Regions from separate parts of the Homo sapiens genome. Here regions 1 and 3 are each linked to region 2. The links are contacts of gene promoters, found by promoter capture Hi-C in human tissues and cell types (Jung and others, 2019). All regions are on one chromosome and are shown on one strand. Each heading gives the region's core, a stretch centred on a gene start or on the middle of the fragment in contact. The rest is flanking DNA. Distances are from core to core; before and after follow the strand shown. Region 1 overlaps CR1L (complement C3b/C4b receptor 1 like). Region 2 holds the start of CD46 (CD46 molecule). Region 3 overlaps CD46 (CD46 molecule).

Region 1 (3,383 bases), core at 808-3,307, 50 kb after region 2:
TATTTCTTAATCTAAGACAACAATAAAACTGGCCACATTGACTCTTCCTTTCACAAAAGATTTTGCTGTAGCATGCAATGCTGTTTGATAACATTTTACCCTCTGAACTGCTTTCAAAATTGGAGTCAATCCTCCCAGATACTGCTGCTGCTTTATCAACTTAGTTTATGTAATATTCTAAATTTGTGGTCATTTTAACAATGCTCATGGCATCTTCACCAGGAAGAGACTCCACCTCAAAAATCTACTTTCTCTGCTCATCCATAAGAAGTAACTCCTCTTCTGTTCAAGTTTGATCATGATATTGTAGCAATACAGTCACACCTTTAGGCTCTGCTTCTAATTGTAGTGTTCTTGCTACTTCTGTCACATCTGCAATTATTTCCTCCGCTGAAGTCTTGAACCTCTCAAAGTCATCCATGAGGGTCGGAATCAACTTCTACCAAACTCCTGTTAATGTTGATATTTTAACCTCTTCCCATGAATCATGAGTGTTCTTAACAGTATGTAGAATGATTAATTCTTTCCTGCAGTTTTCAACTTACTTTGTTCAGATCCATCAGAGGAATTACTGTCTGTGGGAACTATAGCCTTACAAAATGTATTTTTTTTTCCTTTTCTTTTCTTTTTCTTTTTTTTGAGTTGAAGTCTCCCTCTATTGCCCAACCTGGAGTGCGGTGACGCAATCTCGGCTCACTGGAACTTTCACCTCCTGGGTTCAGGTGATTCTCCTGCCTCAGCCTCCTGAGTAGTTGGGACTACAGGCACATTCTGCCATGCTGGCCAATTTTTGTATTTTTAATAGAGACGGGGTTTCACTATGTTGGCCAGGCTGGTCTTGAAATCCTGACCTCATGATCCGCCCACCTTGGTCTCCCAATATGCTGGGATTACACCATGCCTGGCACAAAATATATTTCTTAAATACTAAAACTTCAAAGTCAAAATTACTGCTCAGCCATGGGCTGCAGAATGGCTGCTGTTGTCAGCAGGCAGGAAAACTACATGCATCTCCTTGTCCATCTCCATCAGAGCTCTTGCCTGATTGGATACAAAGTCAATGAGCTGTATGTAACATTTTGAAAGGAATCTGTTTTTCTGAGCACTATATCTCAACAGTGAGCCTAAAATATTCAGTAAACCATGCTGCAAACATACCTCTGTCATCAGACTTTGTTGTTCCATTTATAGACACAGGCAAGGTACATTTAGCATAATTCTTAAGGGCCCTAGGGCTTTTAGAATGGTCAGTGAGCATTGGCTTCAACTCAAACTCACCAACGAGATTAGCTCCTAAAAAGGCAGCCTATCCTTTGAAGCTTTGAACCCAGGCATTGGCTTCTCCTCTCTAGCTATGAAGGTCCAATAGATGGCTGTTTTGTCTACATGGAGAATCTGCTATTTATTTTAACACCTTCATCAATGATCTTAGTTAGATCATCAGGACAACTTGCTGCAGCTTCTATGTCAGCACTTGTTGCTTCACCTTGCACCTTTATGTTATGGAGATGACTTCTTTCCTTAAACCTCAGGAATCACCCAACCTGGAGTGCAGTGGCACAATCTCGGCAACTTCTGCTTCCCGGGTTCAAGTTATTCTCATGCCTCAGACTCCCGAGTAGCTGGAACTACAGGCAACCCGCCACAACGCCTGGTTAATTTTTGCATTTTCAGTAGATATGAGGTTTCACCATATTGGTCAGGCTGGTCTTGAACACCTGACCTCAGGTGATCCACCTGCCTCTGCCTCCCAAAGTGCTGGAATTACAGGCATGAGCCACAGTGCCCAGCTGCTTCCAGCTTTTTTTCTGCAGCTTCCTCACCTCTGTCAGCCTTCACAGAATTGAAGAGAGTTAGGGCCTTGCTCAGGATTAGGCTTTAGCTTAAGGAAATATGTCTAGTTTGATCTTGTATCTAGACCACTAAAACTTCTTCCATATCAGCAATAAGGCTGTTTCACCTTCTTATCATTCATGTGTTCACTGGAATAGCACTTTAAGTTTCCTTCAAGTACTTTTGCTTTGCCTTTGCAACTCGCTAGCTGTTTGGCACATGAGGCCTGACTTTTGGCCTGTCTTGGCTTTCAACATATCTTCCTCACTAAGCTTAATCATCTCCAGCTTTTGATTTAAAGTAAGAGATGCATGACTCCTCCCTTCATGTCAACACTTAAAGGCCATTGTAGGGCTATTAATTGGCCTCATTTTAGTATTATTGTGTTCAGGGATTAGGGAGTCCTGAAGAGAGGGAGAGAGAAGGGGAATGTCTTGTCCATGGAGCAGTCAAAGCATGCACATTTATTAAGTTTTCTGTCTTATATGGGTGCAGTTCGTAGGGACTCCAAACAATGAAAATAGTAACATCAAAGATCACTGAAGACAGATCACTATCACAGACATGATAATAATGAAAACCTCTGGGATATTGTGAGAATAACCAAAATGCTACACAGAGACACGAAGTCAACACACACTGTTGGATAAATGATGCCAACTGACATGCTTGTTGCAGCGTTGCCACAAGCCTTCAATTTGTAAAAAGCATAACATCTGTGAAGTACAATAAAATGAGGAAGGCCTGTACTTTTTGATGGCAGCCCTAGCAAGCGATCATGCTGTTATCATTAAGATTTGTTCTCTCACACAGCTGCTACATGCCCTTCCCTTTCTTCCAGCAATGTCTACTCTGGGTTAGGGTTGTTTGTGTGCTTTGACTACTATACTCCTAATTTTTTTTCCTTCCCATCCAGTGAACGGCATACTCTTTATGTGTGCACTGCCCTGGTTTCCAGCAAGGACACAGATTTTTCCCCTAATCTTCTCCTATCTTTGTTCATTTCAATCAGGAGTTAATACCTGTGTTCAAACCTCTCAAGAGCAGGTGGCAACAGCCTAGTTTCCTTCCTGAGATGTGGCTAGAAGGTAGTATTGCTGTGCTGGAACTCTGGAACCAAGAGATGTTGCTGCCAACTCACCCTGTAGTACAAGAATAGTTGATTCTGGATCCAACATGGATGTCTGTGATCACATGCACCATGCCATTCACTGGAACTGGAGGAGTTTCACATGATTTACCTGTGGGAAAGAAAATGTTTTGGAGCCAGGTAGAGTAATCTGAACTCTCTTCAGTACGTAAGGTCTCAACCTGCATGTAGCTTCCTGAAGAAAACACGCAGTTCTGATAGTTCCACAGATTTTGGCACCTTGAGAAAACTCATCAGAGAGCCTCAGGATCAGCCACCTACTAAGCCCCACTTTCAAAAAGACCTTCCCTCCAGATCTATCTAGATCTAGATTTAGATCTGTGTAGAGACCTTGCATCCCTTATCAAAATGTAAAGGTCATTTATGGCATTATTTACTACCAATAAAGTTTTCAAAGGAT
Region 2 (3,168 bases), core at 394-2,893:
TTTTTTTTTTGTTTGTTTGTTTTGTTTTGACAGGGTCTCACTCTGTCATCTAGGCTGGAGTGCAGTGGCATGATCACAGCTCACTGCAGCCTTCACCTCCTGGGCTCAAGTGAATCTCCTACCTCGGCCCCCAGAGTAGCTGGGACCACGGGCATAAACCACCATGCCCAGCTAATTTTTGTATTTTTTTGTAGAGACAAGGTTTTGCCATGTTGCCCAGGTTGATCTTGAACTCCTGGGCACAGGCAATCACCCCGCCTGGGCCTCCCAAAGCGCTGGGATCACAGGCGTGAGCCACTGCGCCTGGCCTAGCATGCATTTTTAAAAGTATTGATTCCATTCAATGAAATACAAAATAAATTTAGTGGGATAGGCCTTAAGCTTTAGCTTATGAGCTGCAGGGGAAAACAAGATTAACATTATCTGCCTTCCTTTGTTAGGATACTAATTTCTCACTAGGTTTGGCTACCATTGTTTTTTAGGTTGTTTCACATCTCTCAAATATGACTCAAAGTAATGAAAAGAAGGAAAACAATGTCAAAAAGCCATTAGGCAATGGAATCAGATACTATCTATATTGGTTGGGAACAGGAAGAAGACTCGATGGCCCACCCACCCCCCAAAAAAGCAGCCATTTACAAACTAATAGGAGCTCAGGTAACACGGAGACTGTTCACAGAAGGCACAAAAAGCATGGCGCGCCCTTACCACCTCTCTAACCCCAGGCACCGAGAGCCTGCTCTCACTCAACATGCCCTCCCTAGCCCCAGAGTCCGCGCTCACTCCATTCAAAGCAAACAGTTGAGCTGTCTTGCCCACAGTGAACTCTGCACACAGGCCACTTACGCACAGCACGCTCCCAGCAACACCTGGCCAGGCCCCTGCTCGCCCAGCCCAGCACATGGGGCACAGCAGACGCACTGCAACCCTTACCGCGGGTACTGTCCAAGCCCTAATGAACACCCCACTCACCAAGGCACCAAGGGAACACAGGGCAAACTCTCACCACGGACACAGCACGGGCCCTAGCAACACTCCCACGCACCTGTGCACTCCAGAACAAGCCCTCACCTAGGGCGCCCAGTCCGCGCTCCCCTGGCCGACTGGCTCAATCCCGAAAACACGATTCACGCTTTTTTTAGGGACGCAGCCAGATCCTGCGTAAATGCTGGCCGCGCACACGACGCCACCAAACAAGCTTCACCTCGGGCTCTGCGTGGTCCCCGCATTCCCCGCCACATACCCCCGGGATCTGAGCACTGCACCCCTCAGAGAACCCTGTCCCCAAACAGGCACGGCCTGCTGTGAGCCCCGCCCCGCGACTCTTGCCCGACTGAGGAGAGCTCTAGTCTCGCCGCGGACGCGCGAACCCGCCCCGGGGTCCTACCGGAGAAGGAGTACAGCAGCAACACCATGGCCGCCAGAAGCAACCCAGGAAAGCGCCAGGAAGGAAAGGGACACTCGCGGCGGCCGGGAGGCTCCATGCGCGGCGCGGAAGACGCTGTTATTTCTCCGGAGGAAAGCAGAGAAACCGAGAGCCAGCCGAGCAGGGAAGTCCCTTCTGGGTCCAGATATGGGACGCAACAATCCCCAACTCACAAAGCATCCAGTGCTGCAGGACAGGTGGGCGTGGCCCGAGCCGCGCCCGGGGCGGAAGTGCGTCGAGTCACCAGGGCGGCTGGGGCCAATCGGCGGGCCGCGGGGCGGAGCCTCGGCGTTCATGGGCAGCCCTTGGCCTTCGAGAGGTCAGGGGGAGGCCCTGGCGGAACCTAACAGAACAGGTTCCCCGAGGCCGCCTTTTTTCTTGCTAAGCCCTTGGCCTACCATCCCGGAAGCCTGAGGCGTCCTGCGGGAAAGGACTGGCTCGCCGTCATATTTGTGACCCAGGCAGGGTGGAGAGAAAACTAAGCTGCTTTGGTAATAGTTTCCGGGAATTCGGGAGTCAAGAATAAAGCACTTCGACCTAAAAATAGAGATCCAGAGTCTAGACAGGGGGTCACCGTGGGCTAGCACCCCTCAGGGTTAGTTTTATCCTGGGGCACTGCAGGCTGTCAGGACTGCCTGGGCCCTTACTTGGTATTTGGCATTAGTCAGGCATTATTGGGAACAATATTTGAGTTTTTCTTGCTTGAATGCCTGCTACTGGATCGTCTCGGGGCCGTCTTGTTTTCACAATCTCAAAGGTTTGGCTTCTGCACTCCCAGCCCCTAAGGTAATTTGCCCTTTGCTCCCCTCCCTGGAGGGGACCCTTCCGAATCTAATTTATTAAGCAACACCAGGCAATTAGAATATTGAGACTCTATGGGGCCCTTGCCCTTGAGCAACTAAATTTTTTATTGAAGACGAAATATACATGCATGAACAATGTAAGGACAAGGGTGTCCTAAGTGCCAAATTCCTGGAAGCAATAAATGCAGAAGGATTCGGATGGGTAGAAATTGTTAGGTGAAGAGTGGATAAGGGGGAGAACTTTTCTGGTGAAACAATCTGAGGAACAATACTGGAAAATTAAGAATGAGCAGGATTGATTTGTAGGATTGTGAGTAAACCGGAATGACCGGTAAAAGGAAAAGGACATGACTGACATTAAAAGAGCAAACAAAGAGTTGACATTTCTTCCCCTCAGATTGGCAAAGAATTAAAACGTCAGCCAATGTGAGTGAACGTGTTGCAGGGGGACCAGCACTCTGTAACATAACTTTTCAGTATGTTAAAAGTCTTAAAGTGGACATGACTTGTGTTAGGCTCTCAGTTCCCAGAGAAATCATCAGAGCTGTGATCAAAGCTCTGATGTGATCAAAACTCTGATGTGATTAATTTTTGAAAAAATGTAAACCCTAAGTGTCTAGCAAAAGTAATAAAGAATTTCTGGCAGTTACCTTTGTGTGATGGAATTCTATGCAGCAAATATTGCAAAAGAATACCAAATATGAGAAACTATGATATCATTGTAAGTGGAAAAAGCAGAGTCCAAACTGGCATGTGCCTTTTGGCAGTCCTTTTATTAAAACAAAAGTACCATATTGATATGTATAAAAAGAAACTAGGAATACAGCAAAATTAACAATGGTTGATAAGATTACAGATATTTCACTTTCCTTATGCTTTTCAGTTTTCTATGTTGACCTTATGTTACATTTAGAATAAAGTAAAGAAAATGTATTTAAA
Region 3 (3,629 bases), core at 1,049-3,548, 38 kb before region 2:
TTTTTTCCCATAGTAGTAGAATCTCTTTCTTTAAATAAAGTTTTAAATAAAAATCCAATCTATGCCAAAGATAAAAGGCATTAACATAAATTTAAAGAAACATTTATTGGATATAACAATGAAGCTATTTTGAAGATGGCAAAATATTAACTACAGCATTCATTAAATTATCTTCAAATGTTTACAGATACCCTGAAGCTCAGAGAGAGTCTAAAAACTATTTTCCTAGTTGGCTTTAGTCTCAAAAGTGTCCTAAGAGACTAAGAAGATATAGTAGGCTTCCCTTATCCACGGTTTCACTTTGCACGGTTTCAGTTACCCATAGTCAAATACGGTCAAAAATATTAAATGGAAAATTACAGAACTACGTTTTAGATTGTGTGCCATTCTGAGTATCATGATGAAATCTCACACTGTCCCACTCCATCCCTCCCGGGATATAAATCATCCCTTCGTCCAGCATACCCATGCTGTGGACACTATGTGCCTGTTACTCAATAGCTGTCTTGGTTATCAGATTGACTGTCACGGTATCACAGTACCTGTGGTTAGGTAACCCTTATTTTACTTAGTGGCCTCAGAGCACAAGAGTAGTGATGCTGGCATATTTTTATAATTGATATTATTAGTTATTAGTTATTGCTGTTAATCTCCTACTGTGCCTAATTTATAAATTGAATGATCATAGGTATACATGCTTAAGAGAAAACAGTATATATAAGGTTTAGTACTCTCCCAGGTTTCAGGCAACCACTAGAGGTTTTGGAATGTATCCCCCGTGGATAAGAAGGAACTACTGTATATAGGACTGGGTAGGCCCAGACCGCCAATTCTGGTTGGTATGTTTTGTCTTTCCCTTTCCTCCTGTAACCAAAGACATCACTTTGCTTTTACTAAGAAATTGTCCTTCCAGCTGGCCTTTGTAGATCCTGCTCCCAAACTTTTAATTATAACCTAGGTTAGGGCCTCACATTATAAGAGGTGGGATATGTATCTCCATCTCTTCCCAGCTCTGCGGACACACATTCTAGCACAAACAGAGGAATAATTCCAGTTCAGTTCAAAGACAGAAGGTGGACAGGGTCCAAGGGTTTAAGGCAATGCAATCCATTACTTTTCAAAATCTGAGGACTTTTTTGTTTTCCTTTGATATGCTAAAAATATCCCAGCCCAGGGAAACTGATAAAATGTCTTTACAGAGTTATTTATACGTTGGAATTGAATAAATTTACAAAACTAAGTAAAATATATTTTGGTTTCTATAAAAGGGCATTTTTCCTCCTTGCACTTAAAATGAGTTGATTCTGTGGTTATTTCCCAGTTGGCTCACAAATTCTTACTTTTGGATTCACAGCTGTTTTACAAGGTAGAAGTGAGATCGTCTGATAAAAGGACTAGGGGAACATAACTCTATTTAAAGCCTACGTCAAAGCCTGTCAGTACACATTATGTTTTCAAAGGGAATGGTATAAGAACACATCAATAATTTAGCAAAGGGAACAGGAATGTAAATTTCCTCTTTGATATTTACTGCCAATATCTCTTTGCTCAGGTTATTGATATCTATATATCCACTGAATATTTTTCAAAAGAAAGGACATCTGAAAATAAACAACAGAAAACAGATACCTTTTAATGATAAAAGCAAACCTTTCTCTCATCTCTCCTTCTCAGAGAGAAGTAAATTTTACTTCTCTGTGGGTCTCATCAGTTAGGTATGTGCTGAACAGAGGAAGAGAAAACGGCTGAATAAAATAGTGACTTCAAACCAAAAAGAAACGAGTAGCATAACAAGTGGGATAAAATCCAGTGTAAGAGAGTAGCAGGAAAGCTGAGAATTAGGTTCATAACTTAAGACTTTCTCATTCTCACTGAAGGACTGGAAACATGAATTTTGTGCTAGAAGCTACTTGAACTTTGAAGTCATATAGATCATCCAGCAGATAAACAGACTGGAAATTCCTGTTTAATATGTTTATCTTTGAAGCCATTTTGCATGAAGTGATTCATGTCAAAATGTTTTCAAGGAATAACAGATTGTTGGGGAGAAATGGTACCGGTCTCTAGCACTCTTGATTTTTTTTTTTTTTTTTTTTTTTTTTTTCAAGACACAGCATCTCACTATGTTGCCCAGGCTGATCTCAAACTCCTGAGCTCAAGCCATCGGCCTGCCTCGGCCTCACAAAGTTGCTGGGATTACAGGCGTGAGCCACCAAACCCGGCCTAACACCCTCAATTTTGAGGGAATACATTGAGTATGTATCAAATCCATGTAATATTATCTAGAAATCAACTTTATGACATCATGTATTTTCAGATGTCTCTGGACTTTTACATTAAGAAGTGTCTTCCTGTGGCACATCTGTTTTCAACCTGAGGAGACATCGTTGCAAAACTTTGTATTACATGGCGTCTCATATTTCTGAGATGGATCTAATTTTGTAAGGATGCTTTCTAAACTAATTACAAAACATTTTTGTAGTTGCTCAAAAATTTTTGAAGGGTTAAATGCTCAAGAATTTAAGGGCCAACTAGAAAAACATTTAAGTTAATTTGATCCTTTTTTTGCCCCATGTCACTATATGCCCCAATTACCTGAACTGACCACTATTTTTAATAAAGTAATTGGGTCAGTCAATATTAATGTAACATTAAAAGTCAGTTTAGGTTATACAAAATAATAAATACCATTAATGGAAAAAAGGAAAAACTATTTGTCACAGGTAATAAATATATAAATTATGTAAATAACTTTCACTAACTTAGCCAAACTGTCACTTATCCAGGGATGCTTAACTAGAGTTAAAAAATAATCATGCATTTAAAAAAAACCATTACTTAAATATTTATGTAAACAAAAGGCATCTGTTGTTCAGAAGCACAGTCATGCCATGCAATACAGGACTGAAGCAGTAGCAAAGACAGGGCTGTGGCTTCCAAGACTAAAAAGTATGGTAGAAGAATTAGTAAAGAAAGGAAATGGGAAGGGAAAAGGAGGGAGCATGTGGATGGGACCTGTTTCGGACCCACTGGTATCCTATACTGTTCTCAGCTGAGAGCTATGAAACAGAAAAGTGGCAGAATACTTTAACCTTTTGCCCACTTTTTATCAAGTAATGTAAATGATGTTGGATGATCTTAAAATGACTCCTTACACTATTTTTGTATTTTGAGATGAAGGCTGCAGAAGAGTAATTACGTTCCCAAATCACCATAAATACCAGTTTACAAGAAATACATTTTGTGCCAGGCTTTAACAACAATTTGAGATTATTTGTGCCTGCTAGCCTGCTTCCAGTTACCCCCGGAAGTGGAGAAGTGCCTCCAGACATTTTATAGTCTTTATAAGAAGTTTCTAAGGCCACAACAGCCAATCTGGGGGGACAAGATTATGGACATTAAACAGTGCAAAGAAAATAATGGAAATCTTTGGGGTTTTTTTGTGTTTTTTGTTTTTGAGATGGAGTCTCACTCCGTCACCCAGGCTGGAGTGCAGTGGCGCAATCTCGCTCACTGCAAGCTCCGCCTCCGGGGTTCACGCCATTCTCCTGCCTCAGCCTCCCAGAGTAGCTGGGACTACAGGCGCCCGCCACTATTTTTTTTTTTTTTTTTTTGTATTTTTAGTAGAG

What was found. Contacts are between HindIII fragments. The study calls those that stand out against the background at their distance.
Region 1: a fragment that was not itself captured here is called in contact with the fragment with the promoter of CD46 in region 2 in 2 of the 25 tissues and cell types used here (adrenal gland and mesendoderm cells).
Region 3: a contact is called between a fragment that was not itself captured here and the fragment with the promoter of CD46 in region 2, in 2 of the 25 tissues and cell types used here (pancreas and psoas muscle).

The regions. Positions count from the first base shown.
Region 1 is chr1:207,701,210-207,704,592 of GRCh38, reverse strand. CR1L (complement C3b/C4b receptor 1 like) reads right to left here. Exons shown (of 12, transcript NM_175710.2): 9 at 2,975-3,074. Among named protein-coding and RNA genes, the nearest start is that of CD46, 49 kb to the left of the region's middle. The HindIII fragment of the contact is 3,747 bases long and covers 184-3,383 here.
Region 2 is chr1:207,750,529-207,753,696 of GRCh38, reverse strand. CD46 (CD46 molecule) reads right to left here and starts at 1,643. Exons shown (of 13, transcript NM_172351.3): 1 at 1,388-1,643. The coding sequence starts at 1,484. RefSeq lists silencers at 756-1,113, 1,693-1,802 and an enhancer at 1,383-1,592. The HindIII fragment of the contact is 5,032 bases long and covers 791-3,168 here.
Region 3 is chr1:207,788,346-207,791,974 of GRCh38, reverse strand. It overlaps CD46 (CD46 molecule), which reads right to left. Exons shown (of 13, transcript NM_172351.3): 12 at 1,630-1,722. The coding sequence ends at 1,671. Among named protein-coding and RNA genes, the nearest start is that of MIR29C, 12 kb to the left of the region's middle. The HindIII fragment of the contact is 9,415 bases long and covers 1-3,629 here.